Regions from separate parts of the Homo sapiens genome. Here all the other regions are linked to region 1. The links are contacts of gene promoters, found by promoter capture Hi-C in human tissues and cell types (Jung and others, 2019). All regions are on one chromosome and are shown on one strand. The core of a region is centred on a gene start or on the middle of the fragment in contact, and the rest is flanking DNA. Distances in the headings are between cores, read along the strand shown.

Region 1 (3,990 bases), core at 1,019-3,518:
ACTCCCTACCTGCTGCATCAAGCCATCTTCCCTTCCCTTCTCTTAAATGCAAGCGAACACTTTACAAACTTGTTTAGGAAGCACATTTTGGCAGTGAAGCTACTTAGGCCTCTGGAAAACAATATTTCCTTCTATGCACTGGATTCTGGAACTTTAAGCTTGAAGGAAAGAATAATGTCTGAGACCATTACGCCAGACACAAGATTGTATGAGGAGAGCCAGGAATGGGTTTGAAGAGAAGAGGATGGTTGTACTCAAAAGGTTCAGGTTCTGAGAGGGTTTCCTTCAAGCATGGGTCACAGTTTGAAAAATTGCTTGTCCCCATTCATGGGGAATAAGATTGCCTGAAGTGCTCATCCTGGGCTCTAATAAATGGACACTCTTTACTTTTCTGATTATTATAAGCTCAGGTGTTTCCATCAGTTGGCTAGAGGGAGAGCTGGGTGGGCAGTGAGTGAGTTTTGGAGGCAGATATGAAACGTCTGAGCACATTTTCCCTGCATGCTGAAATCCTGGATTTGAATCTGGGTAAAGAACTGAGAAAGACACCCTTCTTTGCAAAGACTGTCTCTATGTGGTTGGGACGTACGTGTGTGTGTGTGTGTGTGTGTGTGTGTGTGTGTGTGCAGTGAGAGGTATAAGAGTACAGGGGTTTTGGTCCCTGTGTTGGGTTTTCCAAGCAACATTTCTTTAGGAATGGGCTGGTTCCTTCAGGAGACACTCATAATGTACCTAGAAAAGATAACTAGAAAAGTTAATTCCAAATCAGCCTTTAATATAAAAGATAAACAATTGATGCCTCCTTTGATAAGAGTTAATAGCGATAAATAAAGTAAGCTGGTTTATGAGATCATAGGATGCCCACAGAATGAGTAGGCACTTGCCCAGATTATCTCCTTATACTGATTCCTACCAAACGTTCTTCATTCTTTTTTTTTTTTTTTAAAAGAACTTTGCCCATTTTCCCAGAGGAGATCCTGCCTCTGTCTTGTTATTTCATTACTTCCTTCTCTGTTCTAATATTGACTTTACTTTTTGGAATGTCTCACCTATACTCACCAACAGGTGCTCTAGGAACTGGCAACCTGTTAATCAGGCTCTAAATCCATGTTAAATGAAACTGGTATCTTTTGTGACTTATCTTTCCTCGCCTAGTCCCTTGAGCCACTCCCAGCTCACTCGCCCCCAAACCTGTCTCTCATCCTTAATTCCTGAATTCTTAGTCTTGGACTTCTGTTATAGTTCACATTCACAGTTGTGGGCAATTTGATTAAGAAGCAGTTCTGAAGTTGACTGCCAAAGTATCCTCCAATTCTTAAAAATTAGTTATTCTGAAAACACTATCTATCATGAACACTTTGGACCTTTGGAAAGAACTTTCTTTCTTTCTTTCTCTTTTTTTTCTTCTTTCCCTCCCTCCCTTCTTCCTTTCCCATTTTCTTTTGCACTGGGCAGTGGCCCTAGGGAGAACTTATCTTCAAAGGCAGATTGGTGGTTGGGGGTGGGATAAGAAGCAGGAGTCCCACAGGCTGACTAGCCTTTTTGCAATTGGGCCACTGTCCTGCACACATTTTTCTCTTTGTCATACCATGCTGTATTATGGGGATATGGCAACCTGACTACATTCACAACTTTTCTGGTCTTATGGTTCCTTAACTTTGCCTAGGTTTTTCTTCCTGTCTCCAGTGACAGAGAGAAATCACCCCTGGGGTTCCCAAAGGTGCATCCCCGTCATCATCTTCACTCACTGCATCTTGAAGCATATGGATGAAACCCAGCAGGCTTATCGCATAGCTTGTGGTCTGCCCTGGGGAGCCAAGGACCAAGAGCCAGAGAGATGAGAATCAAGATAAAAATAGGTGAACTACCACCTACCAAGTAGATGACTACATAGGAATGGATGTGTGGGCAAGTGGAGCCGTCTGTGTGTGTGTGTGTGTGTGTGTGTGTGTGTGTGTGTGTGTGTATTGAAGACAAGGGCAGGGGTTCCAGACCTCCCTGCATTTGAGCCCCATGCCCTCTCTTAGCATACACACAGCCTCCCAGGTACAAACAGTGCCCTGTTTGGAAAGTAAACATGCCATAGCAATCCTGGCACCTCTGTGAAGTGACTTAGATGCCCACATGCACCACCTACAATGCTACCTGAGTGATGAATGTCTCTGGGATGTGAGTGTCAGCTGAGCACGTCTGTTGGGAAATGGGCCCCTCCCAAGAGCCTGAACCTGAATACTTCTTATAAAAAGGTTCTCTGGCTGGACGCTGCTCAATCCACTGCCTAGCAGGTGGCCCATTCCAGTTGGAGAACGTAGTGAGTCTTTCAGTGGAGCCAGGGTCTGGTAAGTCTCCTAGCAGGGTCTGGGGGAGAGGGTGGGATGAGTTGAGGGCACAGGGGAGGAGCAAACAGAACACAGGCAGCAGATAGATGTGGAAGGGGTGTCCCGCAAGGCACCTACGCTTCTAGTGAGCCAACCTCTTAAGGTACTAATGAGGACATAAAGGCAACATAGGAGGTGGTTTTTGCAAGGGTACACAGCAAGTCCGCAGAAGAGCTGTGACTAGAACCCAGGTCTTTCAGCTCCCTGGATGGGGTTATTTATATTGGCACAACTCTCCTTTCCCACATGGTTGTGGGGCATGAGAGGCGTAGGCAAGAAAGAATGATCAGGACATGCTTCTGGCCTGTGGATTATTTAGACCCAGCAGGTGGGACCGCCTGTTGGACTTGGGTGTTTTCTAACTGATGGGGGTGTAGTAACTAGGAAGATACAGTCGAAGGTCGGTAGGAAAGTAAAATGAGGGACAAGAAAAAAGCCAAGTGGAGATTTTGGACTGGATCATACAGATAAGTTGCCGCAGTGTGCTGTTTATTTTCCACTGTGGAGAACTTGAGCAGTCTTCTTCTAGTCAGAGAAAATGGAAATGCATTGATTCATTGCATGGATTGTGTCCTGCTCTGAGCATGTTTAACTCACTGGAAACACCTGCTTGGATTTGCTTCTTTGCGTCCGCTCTTTCTGGGTGCTTTTCCCTCCTTGTCCCAGGCCAGGCTGACTTGTACACTAAGCCGAATCTCAAAAGCCCAGACAGAGTTCCATTGGTGGAAAGAAAAAGCCGGCTCGCCTTTGAAAGGCTGCCTTTCTTCCAGGTTTGTCGTGAGGAGCTCCGCGATGTCCTCTCAACAGAGCGCCGTTTCCGCCAAAGGCTTTTCCAAGGGGTCGTCCCAGGGCCCCGCTCCGTGTCCCGCCCCGGCGCCCACCCCGGCGCCCGCCTCCTCCTCCTCCTGCTGCGGCTCCGGCAGGGGCTGCTGCGGCGACTCAGGCTGCTGCGGCTCCAGCTCCACCAGTTGCTGCTGCTTCCCAAGGAGACGCCGCCGACAGCGGAGTAGTGGTTGCTGCTGCTGCGGGGGCGGCAGCCAGAGGTCCCAGCGCTCCAACAACCGGAGCTCAGGATGCTGCTCCGGCTGCTGAGAGGCCCGCAACCCCCAGCGCTGCGCTAGAGAAACCCGCCCAGCCCAGAGCGGGCCCGCCCCGCTGCGGCTCCCACGCGGGGCTGGGCCTCGGAGTTTGCCCCGTAAAGCGAATTGCACTTTGATGTTCAGAAACCCACTTTGTTCTCAGCCACGCAAAACTCCCTGACCCCGATGTGATTTTTCTCCCCGGGGATTCGAGAGCCATGCGTGGGACACTGGACCCTACTGTCTACACGGGCTTGCACACAGCAGGTGCTCAGCAAATGTCTATTGATTTGATTGTCTTTTGAAGATGTCATAATAAAGCTTCTACCTCCTGAGAACACCTTTTATTTGTTCTTCATTCGTTTCTCCACCCAGGTAGAAAGGCTTGAAATGTTTGTGAAAGGCAGAATACTATAATTCATGCCTGAACAAGAAGGTGGCTTTCTGATAGTTAATTATGATAGCAGCGATCACATATCGACTGTTTCGAGTATTTTAAGGATTTTATGCGACAAAGTCCTTGAATATTCTCA
Region 2 (3,990 bases), core at 447-2,946, 55 kb before region 1:
TGGGACTGGCACTCCAGAGTCTGCGAGGGCAGAGAAGTTTGCTGGGAGACTGAGAGAGTGCTCATGGGATATTGTGGTATGGGAGGAGCTGGAGCCCTATGTTCTTGGCTGGACAAAGCCCTGTTGTGCTCATTTTGGAGATGGCAGGTGGGACCAATCCCATCACAGCAGCTGCCTCAGCAGGGAGATGCCCTGCAAGGGTGAGGTGTGGCCTAGGCAAGGTGTAGGAACTGGAAACTGAGGTAGGGCTGGAGGGGGGGAATATAACAAGAGTGAAAACAGTGCTTGAGGGCAAAAATGTGATGGGGAAAGTAAAAAAAAAGACCTGGAGTCTACACTGAAATTGAGTGGGGGTGAAGAAGTGAAATATTATTTTGGACCATATGAAATTGTTGTTTTGTAGGTAAAATGGTGGATTATGAACAATTTTATGTGTTCAACCTAATGTAAGCTTACTGTGGGTAAGCACCAAATATTAAGTATAGCCCATGGAATGCAGGGTGGTCTAAAGGTGAGTGGCACTGGATCTCAGCATTTGGAATGCCTACCTGTCCCCATATGTATCATCAGAAGGCACCTGTTAAAATATACACGTTACCTAGAAGTAGCAAATATTACCTAGCAACATCCTGGCACAACTGGCTTTATTAAACCAAGTTGTCACTTACTATGACAACAGCTATATAAAGTGACTGAAAAGAAAATTGGAATTTTGATTGAAAGATCATTTTGACTAGGTAGAGCCTGAGATAGGGGAGCTGCTTGGCAGACTGTGAGCAGCACTTGGCACAAGGTGGGGGGGTTTTGATAGAAGGCATTGAGAGAGAGGAAGCCGAGGTCTGGACCCAAAAGACTTGCTGACTGGCTGTGCCCATAAGCTTCCCTGCGCTGACTGCTGTCAGCCAACAATTAGGATTTCCGTGGTGCTCTGGCTCCCTCTTCAGGGAAACTCCTGAAATGCATCGCCATGTCTCAAGAAGATGGAGCTCCAGCGAAGTTTCAGAGATGGAAGACGGAACGGTAAGGGAACTAGTATTTCTCAAATTCACACTGTGTGTAGGCAGTCTGCTGAAAAGTGGCCACTAATATTGCCATGTATAGAAGTGTAAACTCAGATAATTTACGTGATTTGTCCAAGGTCATAACTCAATGGTGGTAGAGCTGGGATTCAACTTCAGGTTAGCCTGACTCCAAAAGACAAAGGTTGACCGTGGGCATCTCCAGGGAAGGGAGCAACTTCTATTGATTTTTGAATCCAGAGCAACTTCCATTGATTTCTGAAGCTCCAGAGTATAGTTGGGTGCAACAAATGTGAATCCCCAAAGACACAGGGCCCCGCTTAAGACCCCACACGTGGTTTTCCTCCCAGAGTCAAAACCCAGCAAGTTTGTGCCCCTCTAACAGCAGTATGAATCTTGGGCCCCAAGGCTGTGTCTGGGGCAGCCCTTCATCTCTAACTTCTGAGTATTCTTGGCAACCACCTGGAACACAGTTTTCCATGGTGCAGTGCTTCCTCCTCCACCTGCCCTTTCACATAAGGGATCGCCTTTGACCTTAACACCTGCTCTCTCTGTTTGACAGATGATATTTGATTTTTGAAGATGGAAGAGCATCTATCCATGCATCCATTCATTCATAAAACTGATAAGTATTTGTTGAGTGTCTACGATGTCCAGTCAGTGTTATTGACTCTAGAGATACAGCAGTAAACAGAATAGATAAAAGCTGGGATATGTGGGTGGGAGTAGTAGGCAGTAAACAATAACCCTAATAAATATGTAAATTATACAACATGTTAGAAGGCGGTAACCACTATAGAAATAGAGCTGAATAAGGAATGAGAGTGCAAGTGGCAAGGATAAAGGGTAAGTTGTAATTTAAATGGACTGGTCAGCTCTGCTTTATTAAGAAGCTTACTTTTGAAAGAAATATAGGGAGGGAGCCAAGCAGATATCTTGGGTAAGAAGATTCCAGGTAGAGGGAAAAGCCAATGCAAATGTCCTAAGGTGAAATCATTCCTGATCTACACAAGATACAGCAAAGAGGCCAGTGTGGCTGGAAGGGAGTGAGAGAGGAGAGTAATGGGGTTGAGCTACCTCTACTGACTGAGTATATATTATATGCTGGGCACCACTAGGCACTTAAACATGCTGATCATGTCAACTCCTCTGGGAGTGTGTTATGGACCAATTTAGAAGTTGAGAAATAGTGGTTTGGTGAGAGTGGGTAACTCACACATGGCCACAGAGCCAGCAAAGCAGATGTTCTGGCTCCAGAGCCCCGTTCTCTCCTCTGCACCCCATTGCCTTCATTCGGCCGAGTGGCCCTGCCTGCAGCAGCTGCCATGCTCTGAGCTGGCCTCCTGGTGTCAGTGAGCCCCAGCTCAGTGGCCGAGGAGGGCCCCAGGAGTCACAGGCTCTCACTGATCCCCACCACACCGAGGCTGCTTCCTTGTACCCCTGGTTTTAGGTCCAGCGTCCTCACCACTCTGAAATCAATTACTATTTTTACTTCTCTTTTTTTTTTTGGCATTAAGTAGACTTTTGGTTTTTAAATTATCTGAAAGTAAAAGCACAGAAGTGACATTCTTCTTGAAAGTGAAAGCAAGTGTGGAACATTTTTAACCATGCTGTTTCCTATCTGTTCTAGTTTCTGTAGGTAGTGGGTTCAGAGTAGCTCAGAGTATAAGGTGTGGGATGTGTGTGGGGGTGAGGGTTGGCCCAGGTGGACATCAGCATTTGACTCCTTCCTGGTTGCTGTAATTTGGGAGGGACTAACCAGGCTGCTAGATGTGCAGAAGGGTGGGCGCCACCTGCTGGTTGTGTGCATAAACCGCCTTTTCACCCAGTCAATCTTCATTCTTCTTTACTTGGAAATGGCAAATGAAGCCTTTCTATACGTGACTCTAGCAAATTAATTATTTCAGTCTTCCCGAAACACTTTATGTATATAATACCTCATGGTAGCATCATGCAAATGTCCCTTTGCCTTTGCTTGTGCTGGTATACCTTACGAAAAACAATCTGTACATCCAAGATGTCCCCCAACATCACCTACTTCAAAAATCACCTACTTCCAAGATCCATCCCTTACACTCTCCAAACTCCCCAGTCCTCAGAGACCCTAAGACACCTTGAACTACATCTAATCACCATGTGGCTAATGTGTTTGTCTTCTCCCAGAGGGGGACAGAGAATTAGCATTAAATTATGGCAGATCCCAGAAGATGTGCACAGGTCCTAGGACACAGCAAGGTGTTCAATAACTGTTGAAAGAAAGAATGCAGGCAACATATAACAATAAATAGGAAACAGACTGCATTTCGGTTTGTGGAGATGTGTGACATCTAAATAGAAGAAGAATGTCCTCCTTTGGTGATAGAGTTCCAAAGAGTTATTGCACTTATAAACTTTTTATACTAAGTATTGATGCTGGCAACTCAAAAACATCCCTTTTTAAGATTTTTAGGGGCCAAAATTCATACGGACACTCCCAGATGTTAAGGTTTTGACTTCTAAAAAGAGACGAACTGCCTGTATTTTAGGTTTATTTTATTTATTATTATTATTATTTTTTGAGACGGAGTCTCGCTCTGTCGCCCAGGCTGGAGTGCAGTGGCGCTATCTCGGCTCACTGCAAGCTCCGCCTCCCAGGTTCACGCCATTCTCCTGCCTCAGCCTCCCAAGTAGCTGGGACTACAGGCTCCCGCCACTACGCCCGGCTAATATTTTTGTATTTTTAGTAGAGACGGGGTTTCACCGTGTTAGCCAGGATGGTCTCAATCTCCTGACCTCGTAATCCGCCCGTCTCGGCCTCCCAAAGTGCTGGGATTACAGGCGTGAGCCACCACGCCCAGTTCATTTTAGGTTTTACTAACTCACTCTTATCCTTTAATCTGGCCACACAGATACCTTACCAGGTCTTAAGTCACTGTTAAAAAAAATTTTTCCCCAAACGTATCACATATTACCAGGATTGTCTGACTACATG
Region 3 (3,990 bases), core at 968-3,467, 39 kb before region 1:
AGGCTAGACTTGAACTTCTGAGCTCAAATGATCCGCTCACCTCAGCCTCCCAAAGTGCTGGGATTACAGGTGTGAGCCACTGCACCTGGCCAAATGGGTTTGATTCTAATGAGGAGGAACCCTCATATCTTTGCTTAGATCCATTTCCTCCTTCTTTACTTAGTTCACATATTAGAGGCGTCCTGGGTAGACCAATCCCTTAAACACACAACAAAAGTTTGCTTCTGAACCGCCTTCTAATTTTTTAGAATTTTCTCTTACCTTGTGTACTTGCCTCACTCCTCATATCTGCTGGTCACTGCTGTTTCTCTTGTCTTTACCTTCTGCTTTCTTCCCTGACCACAACTCTCTTTCTGGTTGTGTTGCCACAACCTCCCTGAATAATTTGCCTCATCAACACTGACTCATCCCTGGAAACATCTACACTGTTGTAGGCCCCAAGGACAGCGAGGTTGCTGCTTAGGCCCCCACAGCTTTTCTACTGCACAACTCCAGGGCTGCCACATGTAGACGGTGCTGTGAATGGGCCCAACCATTATGCCATAGAACAGGTCTATTAGGCTGCCCCTTGCCAGGTCCATTTCAGTCCCATGACAAAGACCCAGAAAAGTCATAGTAGAGAGCCTAGAGTGATGATGCAATCCAAAGCCATTCCTCTAATGACAACAATGCCTGGGAGGAACCTTGAATGCTTATCTGGGAGATGAGAAGTCTGAAGGAGAGCTAAGAAATTTTTAGTGTGTGGAAGGGTATAAGTAGGACCAGTGAGTGGACAGAGGCTACAAAGAGTCATGCTTAAAATGAAAAATAATTTCTAATGTCCATTTTCACGCTGCTGATAAAAACATACCCGACTGGGCAATTTACAAAAGAAAGAAGTTTATTGGACTTACAGTTCCACGTGGCTGGAGAGGCCTCACAATCATGGTGGAAGGTGAAAGGCATGTCTCACATGGCAGCAGACAAGAGAATAGAGCTTATGCAGGAAAACTCCCCATTATAATAACCATCAGATCTTGTGAAACTTACTATCACGAGAACAGAGAACAGCATGGGAAAGACCTGCCCTCATGATTCAATTACTTCCCACTGGGTCCCTCTGACAACACTTGGGAATTCAAGATGAGATTTGGGTGGGGACAGAGCCAAGCCATATCATCTAACCATCTAATCTGTTCAGAAAAGCAAGTGGCTATTGTCTTGATGGGTTTTGGTTTCTCTGGCCTGGAGGTGTTTCAGCCGAATTTGGGAGATCACATGAAAGAGGGGTGCTGTGTACAAGACGTAGGAAGTTCGAACAGGAGGAGGCATGCCCTAACAGGAAAAGGGGTGCCTTAACAGGAGGAAGGGTGTTCTAATGGGGTTGGAGAGTGCCCTAACAGGGGGAGGGGTGCTCTAATAGAAGTGCCTTAATTAGGGTGCTCCTAATAGGATGGAGTGCCTAATAGGAGAAGGGGATGCTCTAAAAGGAGGAGGGGGCCTGAACAGGAGGAGGAGCCTAAAAGGAGGAGGAGGTGCTTTAACAGGAAGAGGGGGTGCTCTAACAGGAGGTGTAGGTCCCTAACAGGAGGAGGGGATGTCCTAACAGGAGAATGGATGCTGTAAATGGAGGAAGGGTATCTTAACAAGAGGAGGGGTGCTCTAATCAGAGAAGGAGGGGTGCTCTAATCAGAGAAGGAGGTGCTCTAAAAGGAGGAGGGGGCCTTAACAGGAGGTGGGGTGACCTAAGAGGTAGAATGGGTGCTCTAACAGGAGGTAGAGTTCTCTAACAGGAGGAGAGGTGCCCCAAAAAGAGAAAGTGATGCCCTAACAGGCGGAGGGGTGCCCTAAACAGGAAGAGAGGTGCTGTAACAAGAAGAAGGGTGCTGTAATAGGAGGAGGTGTGTTCTAACAAGAAAATGGGGCCCTAAAATCAGGAGAGATGCCCTAAGAGGAAGAGGGGTTCCCTAACAGAAGGAGGGGTGTCCTAATAGAAGGAAGGGTGCTCCAACAGAAGGAAAGTTGTTCTAACAGGAGGAGAGGTGCTCTAACAGGAGGAAAGTTGCTCTAACAGGGGGAGGGGTGCCTTAACAGAAGGAGGGGTTGCCCTAAGAGGGGGGGTGTTATAACAGGAAGAGGAGTATTCTAACAGGAAAAGGGGGTGCCCCAACAGGAGAATGGGTGCCCTAACAGGAGGAGGGTTGTCCTAACAGGAGGAGGGGTGCCCTAACAGTAGGAGGGGTGCCCTATATAGGGAAAGGTGCCCTAACAGGAGGAGAGGGTGCCTGTATTAGTCCATTCAAACTATATCATTTCACCCCTGGCCCCAACAAAATCTCATGTCCTCACAATTCAAAACACAATCATGCCCTTCCAACAGTCCCCCAAAGTCTTAACTCATTCCAGTATTAACTCAGAAGTCCAAGTCCAAAGTCTCATGTGAGACAAGGTAAGTCCCTTATGCCTATGAGCCTGTAAAATCAAAAGCAAGTTAGTTACTTCCTAGATATAATGGGGATACAGGCATTGGGTAAATACACCCATTCCAAATGGGAGAAATTGGCCAAAAGAAAAGGGCTAAAGACTCCACGAAAATCCAAAATCCAATAGAGCAGTCATTAAAACTTAAAGTTCCAAAATGATCTCCTTTGACTCCATGTCTCACATCTGGGTCACACTGATGCAAGAGGTGGCCTCCCACAGCCTTGGGCAGCTCTGTCCCTGTGGTTTTGCAGGGTACAGCCCCCCTTCAGGCTACTTTCACAGGCTGGTGTTGAGTGCCTGTGGCTTTTCCAGGTGCACAGGTGCAAGCTGTAGGTGGATCTACCATTGTAGGGTCTGGAGGACCATAGCCCTCTTCTCACAGCTCCACAGGGCAGTGCCCAGGTGGGGACTCTGACCCCACATTTCCCTTCCATACTGCCCTAGCAGAGGTTCTCCATGAGGGCTCCACCCCTGCAGCAAACTTCTGCCTGGACTTCCAGGTGTTTCCATACATCCTCTGAAATCTAGATGGGGTTCCCAAACCTCAATTCTTGACTTCTGCCAAGCTGTCAAGGCTTGGGAATTGCACCCTCTGAAGCCACAGCCGGAGCTGTATCTTGGCCCCTTTTAGCCACACTTGTATCAGCTGGGACACAGGGCACCAAGTTCCTAGGCTGCACACAGCACAGGAGCCCTGGGCCTGGCCCATGAAACCATTTTTTCCTCATAGGCCTCTGGGCCTGTGATGGGAGGGTCTGCTGTGAAGGTCTCTGACATGGCCTGGAGACATTTTCCTCATTGTGTTGGCGATTAACATTCAGCTCCTTATTACTTACACAAATTTCTGCAGCTGGCTTGAATTTCTCCCTAGAAAATGGTATTTTATTTTCTATTGCATCATCAGGCTGCAAATTTTCCAGACTTTTATACTCTGCTTCCTCTTGAATGCTTTGTCACTTAGAAATTTCTTCTGCAAAACACCCTAAATCATCTCTCTCAAGTTCCAAGTTCCACAGATTTCTAGGGCAGGAGCAAAATGCCATCAGTCTCTTTGCATAGGAAGAGTGACCTTCACTCCAGTTCCCAAGAAATTCCCCATCTCCACCTGAGACCACCTCAGCCTGGACTTCATTATCCATATCTCTATCAGCATTTTGGTCAAGGCCATTCAACAAGTCCCTAGGAAGTTCCAAACATTTCCATATCTTCCTGTCTTCTGAGCCCTCCAAGTCTCTAGGAAGGCCCAAACTTTCCCACATTTTCTCATCTTCTGAGCCCTCCAAACTGTTCCAACCTCTGCCTATTACCCAATTCCAAAGTCAGTTGTGATGTAGGTTTTTTCTCCTCCTGAAGTCAGCTAGATCCAGGTTTTTTGTCTCAAGACCAGGAAGAATTAGGCATGTGGACATCAGAGAGTGAGTAATAAAATTTATTAAGCAAAAGGACAACCCTCAGCAAAAAGAGGGGTCCTGCAAGCAGGTTTTCACCTCACAGTTGAGTGCCAGGGCTTCCACATAAGAGGTGATG

Evidence for each region. Contacts are between HindIII fragments. The study calls those that stand out against the background at their distance.
Region 2: a fragment that was not itself captured here is called in contact with the fragment with the promoter of CRCT1 in region 1 in 2 of the 25 tissues and cell types used here (mesendoderm cells and spleen).
Region 3: a contact is called between a fragment that was not itself captured here and the fragment with the promoter of CRCT1 in region 1, in 2 of the 25 tissues and cell types used here (neural progenitor cells and thymus).

What each region holds. Positions count from the first base shown.
Region 1 is chr1:152,512,214-152,516,203 of GRCh38, forward strand. It overlaps CRCT1 (cysteine rich C-terminal 1), which reads left to right and starts at 2,269. Exons shown (of 2, transcript NM_019060.3): 1 at 2,269-2,339; 2 at 3,149-3,795. The coding sequence starts at 3,171. The coding sequence ends at 3,470. The HindIII fragment of the contact is 6,327 bases long and covers 1-3,990 here.
Region 2 is chr1:152,457,652-152,461,641 of GRCh38, forward strand. No RefSeq gene overlaps it. Among named protein-coding and RNA genes, the nearest start is that of CRNN, 45 kb to the left of the region's middle. RefSeq lists enhancers at 867-936, 2,855-2,914. The HindIII fragment of the contact is 6,142 bases long and covers 1-3,990 here.
Region 3 is chr1:152,473,701-152,477,690 of GRCh38, forward strand. No RefSeq gene overlaps it. Among named protein-coding and RNA genes, the nearest start is that of LCE5A, 35 kb to the right of the region's middle. The HindIII fragment of the contact is 8,673 bases long and covers 1-3,990 here.